Regions from separate parts of the Homo sapiens genome. Here regions 1 and 3 are each linked to region 2. Evidence: promoter capture Hi-C in 16 types of primary human blood cells and fetal thymus (Javierre and others, 2016). All regions are on one chromosome and are shown on one strand. Each heading gives the region's core, a stretch centred on a gene start or on the middle of the fragment in contact. The rest is flanking DNA. Distances are from core to core; before and after follow the strand shown. Region 1 holds the start of EPSTI1 (epithelial stromal interaction 1). Region 2 holds the start of NUFIP1 (nuclear FMR1 interacting protein 1). Region 3 holds the start of LRCH1 (leucine rich repeats and calponin homology domain containing 1).

Region 1 (4,488 bases), core at 1,810-4,309, 2.0 Mb after region 2:
CTCCCAAAGTGCTGGGATTACAGGTGTGAGCCACCGCATCCAGCCTCACATTCACATTTTTTAAAACACTTTGAGAATGTGGCAAAACAAGAAGTGAATGGAGTGAGAAATCTCAGGTAAAACAAGAAGTGAATGGAGTGAGAAATCTCAGGTTTGAAACTTTGGTGTGACATGTGGTTGTGTTGTGAAACAAATATGGTTAACTAAGTATATTCTTGAGGCCAACATCCCTATTACTAGCTCCTTTAGGAGAATCAGTTTTCCCCCAGTGTGGGTTTTCCCTTCCTCAAACTTTAAATTTCATCCAACCACCAAAATAATTTTCTCCTTTGAAACAAGAGTTCCAGGGGTATTTTCCTAGTAAAGAACAATGTGGAAGATGGCCTCCAGAAAGGCCCTGCTGTTCCTCTTTTTTGTTGATCTCTAGGTCTGCGTTTCTCACCCCGCTGGTACCTTACACCCAACAGCACCTAAACAGACTTTTAGAACTTCCCTCAAAGCTTGTCCCTCCTCTAGGTTAATGGTTCTACCTCGTATCCAGTCACAAAGCTAAAAGTCACCATAAAGACAGCAACCATTAAATTACTGGGGCTATAAGGTAGGCATACTGTGAAGATCAGGATTTTTCAACTTCAACACTGTTGACACGTGGGGCAGGACAACTCTTTGTCATGTGGGCCTATTCTGTGCATTGTAGGATGTTTAGGAGCATCCCCGGCCTTTACACACTAGATGCTAGCAGCACCTACCCACTTTGAGGCTTCACAATCAAAAATATGTCCAGGCATTGCCAGATGTCTGCTAGAGGAAAAATCAACTCCATTTGAGAACCACTGATGTGGATGATCTCTATTCCTCACAATACCCACATGAGGCAGAGGAGGAAACTGGATCTCTGAGGAATTAAGAGATTTGGCCTTGGTTGTGTGGCCAGTATGTGGCAAAGCTGGTCTCAAAGCACTATAAAAGCCATCTCCCCTTCTCTCTGCTGCCTTCCAGTACTCAATTCTCTCTTTCATCTAGTTTTTATCTATGCTAATCTCTCATGTGAAATGTCTTTTATGTTTTATTTATTTGTTTTGTAGAGATGAGGTCTTACCATGCTGCCCAGGCTGGCCTTAAACTCCTGGCCTCAGGTGATCCTCCTGCCTCAGCCTCCAAAAGTGCTGGGATTACAGGCATGAGCAACTGAGCCTGGCCCATGTGAAATGTCTTGATTTTGCTCCCCACTTTCTGGGTTGCCTTAGCTCAGATCTGTATTTCTTACCTAGACGTAACTAGGCTCTGAATTTATCTTCCCGATTTCAGTCTCTTCATCTTTCAATCTCCGTTTTCACATTGTTAGAAGCTAACTTTGTAAAACAGATATTATTGAGTAACTGCCCTATTGAAAAACTTCCTGTGCCTTCCACATTGCCTACAACAGTGGTTCCCAAAGGGTGATCCTGAGACTGGCATCATTGGTATCACCTGGAAATTTGTTAGAAATGCAAATCCTTGGGCCCCATCCCAGACCTGAATCAGAAACTATATATATATATTTTTGAGATGGAGTCTCTCTCTGTCGCCCAGGTGGAGGTGGGGTTTCGCCACGTTGGCTAGGCTGGTCTTCAACTCCTGATCTCCAGGTAATCCTCCTGCCTCGGCCTCCAAAAGTACTGGAATTACAGGAGTGAGCCACCGTGCCTGGCCATAAATCTGTTTTAACGCACCCTCCTCCAAGTGGTTCTGATGCTTACTGAAATTTGTGAAACTCTGGCCTACTCTACAAAACCCTAATGTCTTAGGATGGCATAGAAATCCTGACTGACTTTCCTACCATGTTCCTTGTCATTATTTTCTCCTCTCCTGTCCCACCCTGGCCCACCCTTCAATTTCATTCTTTCATTAGCTATCAAACCTGTATGTGTCTTTTTGTTCTAAGCACCAATAATATAAGGAAGACAGTCCAGCTCCTAACTGTCTTGCTGACCTAGGACTGGGGTGCTCCAGCCACATGACAACCCCTGGAATTAAGTACACACCATGTCATTTTAAGTGACAAGCCTCTGCCATAGCATCTCCTTCTTCTTGGTGAATTCCTATGTCTTTGGTGGCTCATTCTCAAATGTCCCTGTTCCTGAATTACTCAGAGGGCTAATCCCCAGTTTCTCTGTGCCTCCACAGCTGCCTGTCATTTCATTTATCCCAAAGTGGCATTCCCATTTGTTTACCTGTCTACTAGGATACTCCTAGAATGCAGGTAGCATGAGGGAAGAGCCTTCACTCATCTTTGTGTAGACGGCATTGTGACCCTGGTGACCAACCCTGGCACACATCAGAATCATCTGGGAGCTTTTCAAAAATATGAATGCCAGAGCTCACCCCTGAACCTACAGGAACTGAGCCTTACACATCCATATTTTAAAATGTCCCCACATCACCGTTGCACACTGTTCTGCACAGAGCAGGTATTTTTAATAGTTCTCGAATGTCTAGTCAATTACTTAGCAAGGCTGCCTGGAGAATCATGTCTACCTTAGCTTACTTCTCCGGCTTTGTAGGTTTTTGTTTTCTTTTGATTTCAGTTTCCATTTCCTCTAACTTGAAAGTATGTGCATTGGTAACAGCCACACAGCAGTCATTACTGATAAAAGGCGACATTTTGTTGAGATGATTTTAGTTATTGACCTAATCTCTGGTATTTTAAGGTTAATATATTTTTTACAGTCTCAAATATCCAGCGGTAACCTCAAATTAGAGTTGCCTGTTAAACAGTTTCTCAAGTATCTTTCAGGATTGTAGTCACTCTGCGGGCTAATCGCTCACCAGGTGTCCGTGGCTGATCCCAGTTATTCTGATTAACCTCTAAGGTGATTGTGAGACTTTAAACCGTCTCACCTGTAGCCGACCAAGCCAGCTCAAGTCAACATCCTGGGCTGTTAACCCGCGATAAGGTCGGACGGGGCCTCAGTGGAGAATACGTGGGGAAGTTCTCTGGGGCGGGCGCAGTCTGCTGCTGATTCTGAGAAACCGAAACTCAGCTGTTAAAACCGCTGCCTCTGCACTTTGGAATCCCATCTTGAGACTCGCTAAGCGTCCCAGCCGCATCCCTCCCGCAGCGACGGCGGCCCGGGACCCGCGGGCTGTGAACCATGAACACCCGCAATAGAGTGGTGAACTCCGGGCTCGGCGCCTCCCCTGCCTCCCGCCCGACCCGGGATCCCCAGGACCCTTCTGGGCGGCAAGGGGAGCTGAGCCCCGTGGAAGACCAGAGAGAGGGTTTGGAGGCAGCCCCTAAGGGCCCTTCGCGGGAGAGCGTCGTGCACGCGGGCCAGAGGCGGTGAGTATTTTAACAACCTGGCTTCGGGGCGGGAGCCCGGGCCCCAAACATACTCACTCACAAGCACCTTGGTCCTTGGAGTTTAAAACCACAGGGGCCCAACAACAGGGATTTTGACTGAATGAAAGCTCATTTGCTTAAATGAAAGTATCCATGCCGCACCTTATAAATTGAGTCGGCTAGTTTGCAGTCCTTTGGTAAATAACCAGCCCGGTTCCTTCCAGGAATACTACTTTCCTGATTTTTGTGACTGGCTACAGGATTGAAAGATATGGGTGTGTCGGAACTGCCTAGGCATCCAGTAAGATGTCATTTTCCAGGTATCTCCAGAACTCATACTCCAACCAGTATGGAAATAACTTTTCCCTTACTGTTTTTAAAAATTTGGTGCTGGGCCAGGCGCGTTGGCTCAAGCCTGTTATCCCAGCACTTTGGGAGGCCAAGGCAGGCAGATCACCTGAGGTCAGGAGTTCGAAACCAGCCTGGCCAACATGGTGAAACCCAGTCTTTACTAAAAATAAAAAATAAGCTGGGTGTGATGGCACGTGCCTGTAGTCCCAGCTACCTGGGAGGCTGAGGTAGGAGAATCGCTTGAACCCGGGAGGCGGAGGTTGCAGTGAGCGGAAATTGCGCCATTGCACTCCAGCCTGGGCAACAGAGCGAGACTGTCTCAAAACAAAACAAAACAGAAAAACAAAACTTGGTGTCCTAAACGGAATTACTGTATCAGACACTAACAGGTAAGGGTCAACAAGAAATGTGATATGGGGTAGAAGGTTCAAATTCTGCCTCTAGGTAGGAGCAAGCCTACGTCCCAGCAAGACTCGCAGATAAACTAGCCTCTTACAACCAGAGGAGTGGAGCTGAGAGAGTGAGGAGGTGAGTGACCATAGTACCTCTCATCCCTGATGTTGATATGTGCTCTATGCAGGAACAGATAGGTAGCTTTTATTCCTGGTCTTTGGTTCAGGGACTGCAGTGAGTATCCGGGAAACATTTATTAAGCAAGTGTCATGAGCCTCTCTTTCTAGCCAATGGAATGAACTTTAACTCAACAGTATGGTTTATCACAACATCACTGCCTTTGAAGTGCTGCCTCTGTGAATTGGAACTGTCCAGATGGTTTTATTTTTAGTCTCTCCTTTTTCATCGACTTCTAGTCTCTG
Region 2 (4,556 bases), core at 984-3,483:
ATGGTGTGATATAGTGGATGTGAAGGCCATTGGTACTGGCAAACTTCTTAAAAATCCAGATAGATGAAATAAAAATGATATATGAAGATTTTTTGGCAACCGTTTTAGGTTCAGCCATCTAGGCGGTTATGAAGGGAATGGAATTATAGCAGGGGAGATTATGTGTTTAAAATGACACACTACGTGTAAGATATTGTGCTTGACGAAGAGAAGTCATTCAACAAATATATACGAAGAATCTTTTTCTTTTTTTTTTTTGAGACAGAGTCTCACTCTGTCGCCAGGCTGGAGTGCAGTGGCGCGATCTCGGCTCACCGCAACCTCCGCCTCCCAGGTTCAAGCAATTCTCCTGCCTCAGCCTCCCAAGTAGCTGGGACTACAGGTACGTGCCACCATGCCTGGCTAATTTTTGTATTTTTAGTAGAGACAGGGTTTCACCATGTTGGCCAGAATGGTCTCGATCTCTCGACCTCGTGATCCGCCCGCCTCGGCCTCCCAAAGCGCTGGGTTCACAGGCGTGAGCCACCGCACCTGGCCTTATTTTATTTTTTTAAAGCTATCTCCTACAGGAAGGAAAGCATAATTTTTCACATTTACTTTTATTTATTTATTTATTGAGACAAACTCTCGTTCCGTCGCCCAGGCTGGAGCGCAGTGGCACTCTCGGCTCACTGCAACCTCCGCCTCCTGGGTTCAAGCGATTCTCCTGCCTCAGCCTCCAGAGCAGCTGGGATTACAGGCGCCCGCCACCACGCCCGGCTAATTTTTGTATTTTTAGTAGAGATGGGGTTTCAACATGTTGGCCAGGCTGGTCTTGAACTCCTGAGTTCAAGTGATCCGCCCCGTCTCAGCCTCTCAAAGTGCTGAGATTACAGGCTTGTGCCACCTCGCTCAGCTGGAAGGCATAATTTTTAAAGTGGTTATGACAGAAATTATATTGGAAAGGGGCCTGTAGTAGAAACATAGCCTCCGGGTAGACCAGGAAGAAAAATTAGATTCAGAAATGGCAGGGTTACTCTTTCAGCTTTACTCTTCTCCAACTGGGTGTCGGTGCTAGTCTACAAATGTGAATAAACATTAAAGCAGATAGGTATGCATGCCGGAATCCGAGAAGCATTCGTTTCGTATATACCAAGTGCCTGTTGCGTGTTCAGGTAGAAGACCATAGTGCAATGGTGGAGACAGATTATGTCGACAAATTATTCAAATACAGTGTACTAAATATGCAATGTAATTAGGAAAAAACCCGAGGGCAAAAAGAAAGGCATGACAATGCTTCGGGGAATCTGGAAAGGTTTTATTGGTGTGACATTTAAGTTGGGCCTTGAAGGATGGGGAGAAGTTTGTCAGTTATGTTTAGGAATGCAACCAGAGGAAGCCCAGAAGCCTAGAGCGTTAAGGAATTGCGCAGCAACTCAGACTGGATTGAGTATTGGGCTGTGTTTGTCAGATGCAATAACAGAATGAGAGGCTAGGAAGGCAGGTCGGGGGCTGGAGAGAACAGGATCTGCAAGGTTCTTGTAATCAGAAGGCAATATGGCACAGAGGTTAAGAGAACCGCTTCCTTCTAAGTCGCGCTCCATCACTTGCTAGCAGTATGATCTAGACACTGGCATGGGCTTGGGCGTACCCATTTGCAACATGGGAAAATAGTTTTTTTCTTATACGGCTTAAATGACTGAGTGGGTATCAGTCAGTTAGGGCAGCGTGCAGCTCATATTAAGGCTAAATGAGAATGTATTATCATCACGAAGCCAAACCACGCCAAAGCTCGTTTCTAGGAGGGTCCCCCAGCCTCCTCCCCCCTGCTACTGTTTGGGAAGAGAAAAGTTCTCTCGGGTCAGGCCGCGCCCACTCCCCACTCCTCCGCCCTCCTAGGCCTCCGACTTTCTTCAGCGAGCAGGGCCCGGCCAGGGAGTGGGTAGATGGGCCTGGTGGGCAGCGGAGACGCCGCCGCTTACCAGGGCTCGGGTCCCGCTCTTCGTCCTCCGCTGTTCCGCGGGCCTTGAAGCCGGGCGGCAGGGCCGGTCCGATCAGGTCTCTTGCCATCCGCGGTGGCGGACACTGGTCACAGATATGAGTCTATCCACGAACGTCAACCCTATCCAAAAAGAATCCCGCGATCAGCAGCGAAGAATGGCAGGTTTCCCGGCGCCGAGAAATGACGTAAAGCCTGTGGTTGGCTGAGCCTTGTAGTTCACGGTAAAGGAAGTGACGCCTAATGCTTGCTCCACAGTCGCGTGCTAGACTCCGGACCCGCCAGTGGTATGGCTGAGCCGACTAGTGATTTCGAGACTCCTATCGGGTGGCATGCGTCTCCCGAGCTGACTCCCACGTTAGGGCCCCTGAGCGACACTGCCCCGCCGCGGGACAGCTGGATGTTCTGGGCAATGCTGCCGCCACCGCCACCACCACTTACGTCCTCGCTTCCCGCAGCCGGGTCAAAGCCTTCCTCTGAGTCGCAGCCCCCCATGGAGGCCCAGTCTCTCCCCGGGGCTCCGCCCCCCTTCGACGCCCAGATTCTTCCCGGGGCGCAACCCCCCTTCGACGCCCAGTCTCCCCTTGATTCTCAGCCTCAACCCAGCGGCCAGCCTTGGAATTTCCATGCTTCCACATCGTGGTATTGGAGACAGTCTTCTGATAGGTTTCCTCGGCATCAGAAGTCCTTCAACCCTGCAGGTAGGCTATTTTTCCACGTGAGTCGACCCCTTTACCTTTTTCCCCCGTTCTTTCCTCTCCCCTTTCTCTGCTTCCTCTCTCTACTCTGCCTTGCCTCTGCACTCTTGGAGTCTGGTCATTAGCATCTCAAAGCAAAGTGAGACCCCCGTCTCTACAAAAAAAATAAAATTAGCCAGGCATGGTGGCATGCCTGTGGTCGCAGATGCATGGGAGGCTGAGGCAGGAGGATTCCTTGAACCCAGGAAGTCGAGGCTGCTTTATCAACTAAGTTTATATAATATTGTAAATCCTTTGTTCTCAAAATATGTCTGACTAGAATGTTTTCCTGTTGACTGTTAATTCCATTTAGCAGTTATTTATTGAATTCCGACTATGTACCAGAATCTGGGTATATAGCAGTGAGCAGAACATACAAAAAATATTATGGAGCTTAATATTATCTCTCTTGTGTAGGAAGACAGACAATAAGCAAAATAAAATATTGTGCATTAGAAGGTTGAGTGGCATGGAGAGAGATAAAACAAAGAAGAATGGTAAGTAGTGCAGGATTTTCTTTTTTTCTTTTTTTTTGGAGACAGAGTGTCGCTCTGTCGCCCAGGCTGGAGTGAAGAGTAGCGCGATCTACTTCACTCCAGCCTATGCAGTCTCTGCAGAGAGGCTCACTGCAACCTCTGCCTCCCGAGTTCAAGCAATTCTCATGCCTCAAACTCCTGAGTAGCTGGGACTACAGGCCCACGCCACCACACCCGGCTAATTTTTTATATTTTTAGTAGAAAGGGGGTTGCCCCGTGTTGGACAGGCCTGTCTCTAACTCCTGAGCTCAGGCATCCGCCCGCCTCAGCCTCCCAAAGTGTTGGGATTACAGGCATGAGCCACCACGCCGGGCCAGGTAGTGCAGTTTTAAATGTCATTGTTAGTCATAAGGAAGGTGACATATGAGCGAAGACTTTAGGGAGGTGAGAGATCACAGCCATGCATACAACTGGGAGAATAGGGGTACGGGCAGAAGGAACTGCAAGTGCAAAGGTCTTGAGGCTTAGAAGCTATACATCAGAATGGGAACCAGTGTGGCTACAGAGGACTGAGTCTGGAGTATAATTGTAGAAGATGGGGGAGGAGGGTAAGACCTGGTATGTCTTTGTAGATCGTGGGACTTTGACTTTTACTGTTGTGAGGTGGGTAGTACAGCGGATTGACATGACCTGATTTACGTTTTAAGAGGATTAATGTGTCTGTTGGTGAGAACTGACTGAAAGGGAAACCGGTTAGGAAGCTATTGTAGTTACTTTTCTAAACAAGAGATATTGGAGACTTGGACCAGGGTGAAGCCCAAGGGATGGTGAGAAGTAGTTGGATTCTAGATCTGGGGATACCTTGGAGCTCTTGTGGGTTCAGTTACAGACCACTGCAGTAAAGCAAGTCACACAATTATTTTTTTTTTGGTTTTCCGTTGCATGTAAAAGTATGTTTTCCTGCAGATCCTATGGGGCAAAAAAGTTATTTTTACATTATACCATAGTCTAGTAAGTGTGCAATACCATTATGTCTTAAAAAACAACTTACATACCTTGATTAAAAAATACTTTAGGCTGAGCAGGGTAGCTCACACCTATAATCTGGGCACTTTATTTATTTTTTTTTTTAATTTGTTGAGACAGAGTCTCTGTTGCTCAGGCTGGAGTGCAATGGCGTGATCTTGGCTCATTGCAACCTCCACCTCCCAGGTTGAGGTGATTCTCCTGCCTCAGCCTCCCGAGCAGCTGGTACTACAGGTGCCCGCCACCATGCCTGGCTAATTTTTGTATTTTTAGTAGAGACAAGGTTTCACCATGTTGGCCAGGCTTATCTCGAACTCCTGACCTCAAGTGATCCATCCT
Region 3 (4,314 bases), core at 690-3,189, 1.6 Mb before region 2:
CCCTAAATCCAAATTACAAAGTTTAATGACCCTGGAGAGCCATCTTTGCCTCCAGTGAACTCAGAACTGTATCTAAATATTCATTAAGGCTCTAGATAAATGTTTATTGAATTAAAAGGGGGAAAAGACACTGGAAACCTAGCCTCCAAAAACCCACTGCCTGCTCCCTTGCCCACTACAAGATTAAACTGGGTGCTCCTGTGATGAGAGTCAACCCATCCAAGACCCAGGGGGTCTGACCCTGGGCCATGAGGCGATGACAGCCAAGAGGTCTGGGCAGCGGCTCCAAAACGGAGCACCCACTGCCCTGGGAAATGTTGGGCGCTTGCTATGACACAAACCCTCCCCCAGGGAGCGGAACCGGATGGCCGGAAACCAAGTCAGTTCTGTATAGACCCTAAGGCCCCAATCCTATTCCACCACCCTCCTTCCTGTTTATAGATCCCGCTCCTGGAACTCCAACTACCAAAGAGAAAGCAGACGTTTTAGAAGTATGTAACACATGACGTAACTTGAAAAAGTTATGCTGCTTATTGGCGCGAGTTACAACTTGCCGGGCTCACACAGGAAAACAGGCTCACGTTAATTACTTTGCCTTTAATATGCCACGCCGTCCTTTCCTGGGGCCCCCGCAACGGTTGGGTAACTGAGAACCAGGTAGCCTCGGTGGTAGGACCCAAACTGTGTGGGCGGTGAGCAAAAGGCACGGAAGGAAGAGGGCCGATCGCTTCCGAAGCGGCAGCCGACTGGGATTCACTACAAGCCCGGCGGCTCTTTTCCCGCACAAGCGCAGGGAGAGGAAACTTGGGCACCTCACAGGCGGCACCGAGTTGCCCGATCGCTCGGCGATGTCGCCGAGGGGGCTCGCGGCACTGCGCCGATGCCCCTGGCTCGGCCGAGGGCGTGCCACCTTTGTCTGGGTTTCCCCACCAGGATGGGCTACGCCTCGATGCAAAGACGGCTTGAACTGGTTGGAGGCGCCGACGCCGCTGTCCGCGCTGGAGTTCCCAGCCCTGCGCGGGGCCCAGGAAGCCGACACAGCCGCCTGAAACCTCCCACTTACACTGCGCGCACGCGGCGCGCCTGCAAGTCCCAGCCCCGCGGTTACTTCCCTGGCGCGGCAGCCACAGGGTGGAGAGCCGGAGACCCCTCGCTCTCAGGCGCAGAGGCCCGGCGCACCCCTGCCCTCCTGGCACTGCATCGCCGGACCAGGCAGGGCCCCCGTGCCCTCTCCAGGGCCCGCTTCTTCCGCGCCCACGCGAGTCCCTTCTTCGGGAGACAACGGGCCGATGGACCCTCCCTCCCCCAGCAAGACAAGATCTCCGACTGTCCACCGCGTTAGGGAACGCACGACAGACACCCAGACAGCACCCACACCCCTGCCCGCCCCTCGGCCCTCACTCACCTGCCTGCACCGTGTCCGAGAGGTCGTGCCCGGGGGCTGCGGTACGGGGAAATTCCTTCAATTTCCTGGCGCTCAGGTTCAGCCCCCCGGAGTTGGCCGCCTCCTCAAGCGCGCGCTCCAGACCCCGGTTCAAGGGCAGGTTGAAGCCCCCGCTGCCACCGCCGCCACCACCCGCCCCGCCGGGGGCGCCGGTTCCTCCGTGGTGCTGATGGTGGTGGTGGTGGTGGTGGGGATGATGAAGTGGGTGCAGAGTAGCTACCGAAAGGGCCGGGACGAAAGGTTGGGGTTCGCTTCCCGGCGTCGCCATCTTCTCCCGGGCCCCCCCACCCCGCCCCGCCGCTCCTGCGGGGGGGTCACAGCGTTCCCCGCGAGGGGAAAACGGCAGCTCGGGCTGAGTGCCGCAGTGCTCCACCGAAAGGCGCTGGAAGGAGGGGAGGAGGGTGTGGGCAGGCGCGTAGAATGGGGGGCGGGCGGGGAGGCGGCCGTGGCAGCTCGGTCTTGAAGGTTTCCTGTCCCCGGGAAGCTAAGGACTGCGGCGGCGGCGGCGGCGGCGGCAGCGCGCATGTGTCTCCTCCCGCCCCTGCGCCCTCCCCCCGGCTGCTCTGCCCTCCTCCGCCGTCTGCTCTCTCCTCCTCCTTCCCCCACGCAGTCTGCCCCGCCTGAGCCTTCCTCCGCGCCTATTCTGCCGGCCGCCGCCGCCTTGCCGCGATCCGCCCCGCAATCGGGTACACGGCGGGGCTGGACGTCTGCTCCGGGGCAACTGAGGCGCCGAACCTCTCTCTGGGCGTCCTTTTGCCGCCCAGGAGGCTTTAGGGGACTGGAGGTTGCGGGGATAGGGGGGTGGTCTGAGAACACGGATAAAACGGCGGGAGGCAATGAATGGGATTTACAGTACAGTGAGGTTTGGGGCAGGAGAGGGTTCTCTCAATTCTGCGATTTATTCTGGCCGTTTAACCCAGAGATCCCCAAGAGGCAGTTTTCATTCACTATGGGGTCATCCCTGCAGATGCCCCCTGGCATTTGGGCGCTTACAATGAACCAGACGCTTGTTTAGGGAGTCTACGTAAGTTACCTCATTAATCCAGGGACCCCAGGAGTGCCAAAGTTGTTCCCCTGAGTCTACAGAGGAAGTTAATAAATGTATCTAAGGTCACCCCTGCAGTTAGAGGGGCGCTAGATTCGAGCTAGGGCCCTCAGAATCTAGGGTTGCCCTCCTTCACAGTGTACCCCTGGGCCAGACGCCAGCGCCAAGGGACGAATACGAGTGGGACAGAGTGTTTGCTGAGCGGCAGAAGAAAGCTACAGACATAGGAAAGAAAAACTCAAAATGAGGGCAGTGTTTATGGGGGACAGAAGACATTGTCGTAGGAGAAAGATGAGCTGGCTGCTCCCCGAAATTGGGTGGTGCCAGGAGAGGCTAGAAAGCCAGTGACCCCAAACAGCAAATCAGTCACAGCTCGAGTCTGAGCTGAAAGAACCATCGAAGTCTCCTTGTGCCCTTCTTCTTCCCGCTTTGGGGCATGGAAACGAACATGTCCGCTTGCAAGTGAATTCACATTCTGCCATCAGCCACCCAGTGGCACCCAGGCCAATGCTGGCACACCAGGGGCGACAGAGAACATCTGACACCCTAAGGGCAGACCAGCTGGACGATTAATAGAATACCATTCCTTTCCTGAAGTTAAAGCTTCATGTCCAACTTTCCAGGGCCTTTATTTTTGCTCTATTCTTAAGGCTTGATTGTCCCCTATGAGCGACTTGGCTTGGGGAAAATGAGTCGGGGGGTGGGTGCGGGGTTGTCGGGGTGTCAAGCACGAAAGTAATGCAACCCTTGGAGTAGGGGAGCTGGTTTTTTAAGTGGTAATACATAAGTTTGATGGCCTAGACAACAGGCTGGAACTGGTGACTTCATGGACTCGGCACTTAAGTATGGCATGATCTGTGTCACTTGAATTGACTGCACAGATAGTTGCCCTTAATTCCTGCGGGATTCTTGGCCCTGAGCAAAGCATTCTAATCTGCCCGGAGGAGACACGCGCCACCTGCTGGTATCCTCCCGCAAACCTCCCCTCTCACATGCCATTCGCCGCAGCCTTCCAGGCTTTTAAAAGTCCGGCTTCAAAATTCATAATAATAACGACAATAATAATAAATGAAAGTATACTTCCATCACAAAAAAGTAACCAAATTTCCACTTTCCTCCAGGGAGAGGAACAGAGAAAAACAAAATCCAGTGAAAAACAGAAACACAGAAAAAAATCCAATTAAAAGAATCTTCAGCTGAAACCAGGTGGTAGTCTGTGTGATCAGCAGTCAGGACATGATTTGGGACATCTTCTGGCTGACTGCAAATTTAGTTCAGACTAAGAGTCGTTGTGATGCATCATAGGAAGCATACATATTTTTTTAAAAGACCACTAATTCTTCTTTAAAGAAAATAATGGATTGCATATGAGCCCACGATTTGCTTTTTAACAAATGATCAGTCCCTCTGTTAGATTGACCTACTCATTGTGGTTTGTTTACCCATCTACAGATTACTAAACTGTAAATTCCATGAAATAGGGACCTATTCATCTTTGCAACTCTCTCCCCATGCCTCAGAATCGAGGGGAGTACTTTGTATATAATGAGTGCACAATTAATATTAGTAATCAATTAAGTATTGCATAATAGACCATGTGTTTAACAGGTTTGCCACCTGTTGATATGTCCTTTTTTATTTGTATAAATTTATGGGGTACTTGTTGATACATCTTTAAAGTTTCAAATGATTTCCCTGAATGAAGGAGTTTTTCTTAAAATGGGAGAGAGTACTTGACCCTTGAAAATGATCTTGATTATTTCTAAATATTAAAGAAACTCGACAAGCCATTTCCCCTTGCTGTCTTGCTTCTTCACTATTTCTT

Evidence for each region. Contacts are between HindIII fragments. The CHiCAGO score rates a contact against its expected background, and 5 or more counts as called.
Region 1: a contact is called between the fragment with the promoter of EPSTI1 here and the fragment with the promoter of NUFIP1 in region 2, in 3 of 17 cell types (naive CD8 T cells, activated CD4 T cells and naive CD4 T cells). The highest score is 13.7, in naive CD8 T cells.
Region 3: a contact is called between the fragment with the promoter of LRCH1 here and the fragment with the promoter of NUFIP1 in region 2, in 3 of 17 cell types (naive CD8 T cells, activated CD4 T cells and total CD4 T cells). The highest score is 11.4, in naive CD8 T cells.

Annotation. Positions count from the first base shown.
Region 1 is chr13:42,990,812-42,995,299 of GRCh38, reverse strand. It overlaps EPSTI1 (epithelial stromal interaction 1), which reads left to right and starts at 3,059. Exons shown (of 11, transcript NM_033255.5): 1 at 3,059-3,322. The coding sequence starts at 3,135. RefSeq lists enhancers at 2,426-2,665, 2,926-3,045. The HindIII fragment of the contact is 6,494 bases long and covers 503-4,488 here.
Region 2 is chr13:44,987,148-44,991,703 of GRCh38, reverse strand. It overlaps NUFIP1 (nuclear FMR1 interacting protein 1), which reads left to right and starts at 2,233. Exons shown (of 10, transcript NM_012345.3): 1 at 2,233-2,679. The coding sequence starts at 2,268. It overlaps GPALPP1 (GPALPP motifs containing 1), which reads right to left and starts at 2,166. Exons shown (of 8, transcript NM_018559.5): 1 at 1,962-2,166. The coding sequence starts at 2,049. RefSeq lists enhancers at 1,420-2,056, 1,983-2,172, 2,363-2,432, 2,057-2,695. The HindIII fragment of the contact is 7,208 bases long and covers 1-4,556 here.
Region 3 is chr13:46,550,795-46,555,108 of GRCh38, reverse strand. LRCH1 (leucine rich repeats and calponin homology domain containing 1) reads right to left here and starts at 1,939. Exons shown (of 20, transcript NM_001164211.2): 1 at 1,406-1,939. The coding sequence starts at 1,712. RefSeq lists enhancers at 806-1,125, 782-1,482 and silencers at 1,686-1,745, 1,806-1,995. The HindIII fragment of the contact is 3,547 bases long and covers 1-3,094 here.